2 separate regions of the Homo sapiens genome follow, and region 1 is linked to region 2. The links are contacts of gene promoters, found by promoter capture Hi-C in blood cells and fetal thymus (Javierre and others, 2016). All regions are on one chromosome and are shown on one strand. Each heading gives the region's core, a stretch centred on a gene start or on the middle of the fragment in contact. The rest is flanking DNA. Distances are from core to core; before and after follow the strand shown. Region 1 has its middle 21 kb from the start of KRT76. Region 2 holds the start of KRT2 (keratin 2).

What was found. Contacts are between HindIII fragments. The CHiCAGO score rates a contact against its expected background, and 5 or more counts as called.
Region 1: a contact is called between a fragment that was not itself captured here and the fragment with the promoter of KRT2 in region 2, in 3 of 17 cell types (naive CD8 T cells, non-activated CD4 T cells and total CD8 T cells). The highest score is 5.3, in naive CD8 T cells.

Annotation. Positions count from the first base shown.
Region 1 is chr12:52,754,900-52,758,098 of GRCh38, reverse strand. No RefSeq gene overlaps it. Among named protein-coding and RNA genes, the nearest start is that of KRT76, 21 kb to the left of the region's middle. The HindIII fragment of the contact is 1,288 bases long and covers 799-2,086 here.
Region 2 is chr12:52,650,454-52,653,983 of GRCh38, reverse strand. It overlaps KRT2 (keratin 2), which reads left to right and starts at 1,773. Exons shown (of 9, transcript NM_000423.3): 1 at 1,773-2,426; 2 at 3,431-3,530. The coding sequence starts at 1,842. The HindIII fragment of the contact is 4,749 bases long and covers 1-3,530 here.

The DNA.
Region 1 (3,199 bases), core at 193-2,692, 100 kb before region 2:
AAGTGGACAAAATGGGGTTATCCTCTTGAGACATTTAGTTGAGAAGGGGAAGAGAGACAGAATGATAGCAAGAAGGTGCCATGGGGTGATAAGAGGTACTGTAAGGGTGGGAAAGACTTGGGTATGAGAGGAGAGGTTGAGAGGAGGGGCAGGAGAGGGAGGAGGGTAACTGATGGAGCAAAGAATTAGAGGAGATGGGTGGGGATACACCTTGAAGCCTTGTACAAGAAAAAGGAAAATCAGGTGGGTGTGGAGGCAGGCAGGAGTCAAGGCACAGAAGGGATGCTGAGGGGATCACTCCTGATGGCTTCAGTGTTCTTGGTGAAGTAGGAAGCTAGGCTTGGGTGGTCTCCCTTAGCAGAGCTCAGTGCCTGCAGCAGGTGGGGGAAGGAAGTTTTAGTCATGGCCTTGAGAAGGGACTTTGTTAGGCTGATGGTTGAAAGATAGGGGAATAGGGGAATTGATGAGGCTGGTGAGAAGGTCGTCCAGGTGGTGAAGTCCAGTCTTCCTTCTATGAGGAATGAGATAGCATCAATTTTGTTCACCACTTTCCACCACCTGGTCAATGCCTAGCATATAGTAGATGCTCAGAAAGTATTTGTTGAATGAATGAATAATGCTTAATGTGAGAAGAGCAGGAAAAGAAACTAGGAGAGAGCTAACAGCCTTGGAAAAAATGAAGGGGTTAAGACAATGAGATTATTTACATGAGTGAAGAGCAGATGTAATGAGAGTTAATTGGGAGAGCCCTGGGAGATGGAAAGTTATGGCCAGAAAGTGGGGCTTGGGAATTAAGCTTCTAGGAGGCAGCAGTTCTTGGTGATGGTCCAGGCTGCAGGCATGGAGTGTGTGGTTGAGGTGGAGTGAAGGAGAAGGTGACCGGAATTGAGAAGACCCAGGGATTCCATGGCCAGGCTGCTGAGTGGGTCATCCTCTCAGAGGTGGAACTTAGCAAGGACGATGGTGGTGGTGGGGAGGAGATGCATGGTATTCCAGAACCCAACAGGGGGAAGAAACCGTGGAGGTAATTTGTTCAACTTCCTACCAAATGATAGCAAGAAGATTGGCTTGGATGGAATGACAGAGTTTTAACATTAAAGTGGTGGAATCAGGATGGAGGAAAGAAAAAGGGAAAGGGGAGGGCATTTAAGGTCAAAAGAGGAGATCGTTCTGCTAGAAGAGGCAGGCTAGTCAACTTTTGGGTAGGAGAGTGACATTTTGAAAATGGTACTTGCATAAGATCATGTTGGCAGGGGTGGATGGGAGCAAAGAGAGACTAGAGACTCTGGGTGATCTTTGGGGAGCAGTGAGCCACATCCAAACTCATGACCCACTGCAGTTTGCCAGGCTGTCAGAAACAGCATAAATTCTTCCCACTCAATGGGTCAGGCTGGTACATATCCCTGCATTTGTGGATATACCACGCTCTGCTTTGTAGCCTTCAGCAGCCTTTGATGATCTTGCCTCAAATGAAGCGTAATATTTGCTGCACAGATGGGTTTCTGCAAGTCTCTTTACGCCCGCAACATGGGATACTCTTTATCATCTCCATCAGCTCACCTCAAGATACCTTCTCTGGGAAGTCTTCCTTGACTAACCGCCCTCCACAGTTCCCATTTCAATCCCCTCCTGCAACTGCAATAGTCACGTGGCTGTTTCTGGTCCCATCCGTGTCTGCCTCATGCTCTGGGTGACAGTGTCAGGCTGTTTGCTTTCTGGGTATTAACAGAACACATTTCCTCCTTCCTGTAAACTTCTTGTTATATGATCAAGAAGCTATTCAATAAATGGAACAGAACTGGGTTTGCTTAAACTTTAGCTCCCATGTTGTCTTGTGTGTCTTGCAATGAGTGCCCTTCCCAAAGTCTTTGAGAGCTGACTTGCCATCCCATGACCTACTCCTGTGGTGCTGTCTACAGAGGCAAGGACAACATTAGATTCCTGTTGATGTGGTGGTGCCAAAGAATGTGTCTGTTCTAAGCCTGGTATAAGCACCTACCAGAGGTGGAAAGAACTGCAGCCTCCAGGGCAACCTGAGCATGATCTTTATTTTTATTTTAATTTTAATAAACTGTAACTAGAAGCTTCTCGGTCATCAAGTTGTTTATCCTCGTGCACAGGGTCAGTTGGCAGTGAACCTACCCCTGAAACCCAGTCAAAACTTCTCTTCCCTCCAGAGGCAATGGCATGGCAGCTTGGAGTGCCCAGCTCTCTGGCCTCTCTGCAGGGAAGGCCTTCTAGCACCCCCGTTACTGTAGCGTAAATTTTTTCTTGGCCTGTGCTCACCAGAAACCACTGGATTCAGATCCTCTCTCCTTATAGCCAGGATGACTGTTGCTGTTACCCCCGGTTAGAATTCTTAATAAAATTGCCTCTCTTTTGTTTATTTTGAGGATAATCTTCAGCCTCTACCCAGGCCCCTGAGGGTGTCAGGCTGCCAAGAGAAGCATCCAAGCTGGTATGTTAGGGGCTTCTAGGGGCTGAGAAAATGTGAGGGTGTGAGGTGAGATTCAAGACCTTCCAATCAGCTGGGTCTCTTTTCCCTCCAGTTGGATGATTTGGCTGCATTTCCCATGTGCTTAACATGGGCTTGGTACACAGGTGGGCATGTTTAGCAGAGAGGGCAGCCACTCCTACAAGTGGCAGCTGATTTAGTCAGTCTGTATCTCAAAACCCCATCTTAAGTTCATGCATACAGGCTCCTGTCCTGGGTTTGGGGCAGGAGATGATTGGGTAGAAGGCTGTCTGGAGGGCCAAGACTTTTCTTCTCCAGCATGACAGTGGAGGCGGGACACACAACTACCCACACAGAGGACAATGCTATAAGCAGGAGGAACCGAATAGTTGCTGATCCCACAAAATCTGGGAGCCTACCATGGGCCAGGCACTGTGCTAGGCAATGGGGAGCCCTGGAGAACCAGGCAGAGAGGATCCTGTCATCATGGCATCTGTTGTCAGGTGGACAAGGGTGCAGCCCTCACTGCAGGGGAGAGGCAGGAAGGGAATGCAGGCAGCAGAATACACAGGGGCCTGAAAAGGGGACTAAGGGGGCATGTTTGAAAGTGGAAGAGACTGGGCACGGGATGTGAGATGAGTGACATGAGGCTCCCTGGGCAGCAGGTTGAAAAACAGAATCAACAGAGCCACCCAGGGAGCCACAGGCAGACAGAGGGGATGTTAGGAACTCTCTTGGTCACCA
Region 2 (3,530 bases), core at 524-3,023:
AGTAAGGGACGACTAGGGCATTGCTCAGATATCTGTAGATAATGACACATTTTGCTTTGGATTGAGACTGTCTCCAAAGCTGTTAGCTTCATGATTTGTTTGCATGATTATAATTATGCAAACCAGATTGGAAAAAATAATTGAGGAGACATGTAGCTTTGTTTCCTTCAGCATTCTTTTACTGCAAATTAAATACCTTGAATAGTAGTTAAGACAGGATTGGAAACTTGGCGGGGAAGATGCAGAAGGGTGAATAGCATTTATTGAGTTTCTGCTATGAACTAGGAACTGTGTTTAGCACATGTGTGTATTGTTCTGTTTTCACAGTAGCCATATTCTTATTATTCTTGTTCACTTTTTATAGATGAGGAAACTGAGGCTTGAAGAGGATTATGGATTATCTGAGGTCATTTAACTAAGATACAAGAAAATTGGGATTTGACCTCAAACTTATGTTTTTTACATTATTTTGTGATAACTTGGTACTAGGATCTGAACCACCTGGTTCTGTAATTTATGATGCCTGTGGAGAGTGCATGTTCATAGTAGCCAGAAGACAGTAACATGGCAAGGGGGAAAGGAAAAGGAATTATCTTTGTCTCACCCCAAACAATAATGATACTGACATTTTATTGTGCACGGTGGTTTTCAAAACACTTCATACGAATTTCCCATTTTATAGCTGGGACCACAGAGCCTCAGGGTTTCATTCAAGGCCTCACAGCCAATAAATAGCAAAACTGGGACTCAAACCCAGAATTTCTGACTAAATTCAGTTTTATTACTCCAAGAACCTCTCCCACATAGTTGGCCACATGGACAGAGGAAGTGGTTGAGTTTAAGTGTGAGTGCTCTGTGCAGGCTGGATGGTCTTCTTATCCTCAAGCATCTGTGGATGTCATTGAAGAGCCTGACTTCCTAATCACTTCCCAGGATCACCAGGCAATACGTGATTACTGACTGACTGAATCAATATACACTTGGATCTTGGTTTGCAAACTTTCACTTGGTGTCCCGCATCACACAGGTCCAGAAACAGCGAAACTTTTCTCATACCTCTCAACCTCTGGGTGTTCATGTAGACAAGGGACAGTTGATGGTTATACAAACCATCATGGTTATAAAAAATCTCTATTCGGTGCCTAGTTATTGTGTATTTTTGGTGTGGCATGGGAAGAAAAGAGCCAAGATATTTTGAAAATCGACACCTCTTTTGCAGTATCCGAGGCCAATTACTTTCTGTAAGAGGAGGTCGATTTCCAATTAGCATTTAAGGTCATTTAAGACCTTTGCAGTCTCCCCTGCACTAGTTGGGGCTCTTTCTGGGAAAGAGGGAAACTACAAGAGAACTACAAGGCTGGCATTGAGGGGCTCTTGCAGTCTCTAAACCCACCATCCCTTTCATTGTTGAACTGGGGTGGTGAGCCTGCACAAGCATGGGTGGTAGCTGACTTCCCTTGGGCAGGTCCAGAACAGGGAGCAGCATTCTGCAGAAGGTCCTTTTCCAGATTGAGAAACCCAAACCCTGATCTCCTCTTTTGATGATTTTACAAAAATCAAATTGCATGACAGATGCCCAGATAAACAGAAGTTTGCAATCAAAGCAAGTTCTGGGATGGAGCTGATTAGTAGATTTTTAATGGCTATTAGCTTGATAATCACGCACCAGGAATAGCTCCCAGGCAGACCAAACCCACGTATAAGTGGATCCACACCCATGTACACAACACCTAGTTGGCAGGTATATAAGGGGACCCTGAAAGCCTCCCAGCAGCACAGTTGAGTCTCCAGCCTTGACTCTTCTCAAGAGCCTGTGACTTTCCTCCCTGGACAAAGGCATCATGAGTTGTCAGATCTCTTGCAAATCTCGAGGAAGAGGAGGAGGTGGAGGAGGATTCCGGGGCTTCAGCAGCGGCTCAGCTGTGGTGTCTGGTGGAAGCCGGAGATCAACTTCCAGCTTCTCCTGCTTGAGCCGCCATGGTGGTGGTGGCGGGGGCTTCGGTGGAGGCGGCTTTGGCAGTCGGAGTCTTGTTGGCCTTGGAGGGACCAAGAGCATCTCCATTAGTGTGGCTGGAGGAGGTGGTGGCTTTGGCGCCGCTGGTGGATTTGGTGGCAGAGGAGGTGGTTTTGGAGGCGGCAGCAGCTTTGGAGGTGGCAGCGGCTTCAGTGGTGGTGGTTTCGGTGGAGGCGGCTTTGGTGGAGGCCGCTTTGGAGGTTTTGGGGGCCCTGGTGGTGTTGGAGGTTTAGGGGGTCCTGGTGGCTTTGGGCCTGGAGGATACCCTGGTGGCATCCACGAAGTCTCTGTCAACCAGAGCCTCCTGCAGCCTCTCAACGTGAAAGTTGACCCAGAGATCCAGAATGTGAAGGCCCAAGAGCGTGAGCAGATCAAAACTCTCAACAACAAATTTGCCTCCTTCATTGACAAGGTGACTCTGGAGAAGACGGCTCCCACTGATGCTCAGGCCACTTCACTTCCAGAGCCAACCAAAAAGAAAATGGCACAGATTTGTATTTCTTAGGAGCCAGTGGTGTACCGCAGTAGCCTGGGTCATTTGCGGTTTCCAGATGGAAAAGACGCCAGCTTTGTGGGTTACATTTCCCATAACAGCCTGCACTTAGGAAGCATTTGTCCCTTTGACCTTATTGTTACAGTCCATATAAATAATATTTATGGAAAATTCTGAAAACCATAAAAAATGGATATAGGCAAGTATTGAACTGATCCTTGGGACAGGCCACTGGAGCAGCAGGTTTTGGAAGCCATCGTCTTCTGAGATAGTGTTTCCTTCCTTAGCAGTGATTACTAAACTCTGGGAAGCTGAACCTGAAATATCTGCTTGGGAATGCAGGAAATTCCTGCCTTCAAGAGAAGCGTTCTCAGTTTTGTGATCCATAAAGTCTTTATTGGTGTCACTTCGGAGTGTTACTGGCTTTTCTCCTATTTCAAGGCAGACGAACCTGTCTTGGTTTATCTGCCTTGAAATAGGCAGGGATTTACAAGGCTCTTAAAAATCAGGCTGAGGAGCCCTGCCCTCTGGGACTCTCATACTCAGCACCCTTGCGAGCAGTGCCAGCAGATGGCTGCTTTCGGTTTTCCCCAGAATTTATGGGATCTTGGCTGGAAATTCAACCAGGATGCGGGGAGGGAAATGGTCTAGAGTATTGGGAGCAGCTGCAAACAAACCAGTGAGCAGTGAAGCAGCAAAGAGTCTCCTCTGCGTGGAGAGAGCCGGATGTAGCATTAGGAGTCTGTGGGACTTTCCAGGGGCGAAAGCAGGGAGCTCAGAAGCTCTGCCAGTCATGACTCGGCATCCAGCCTCAGACACTTCTCGAGGTCCTGAAGCAGCACCTGAGCTGCCCCTGGCCAGCGTGGCTTGCTTGGTGTGAAGGATGATCTAGAACTCATGTGCTCTCCTTCTGGTCATGGCAGGTGCGGTTCTTGGAGCAGCAGAACCAGGTGTTACAGACCAAATGGGAGCTGCTACAACAAATGAATGTTGGCACCCGCCCCATCAACCTGGAGCCCATCT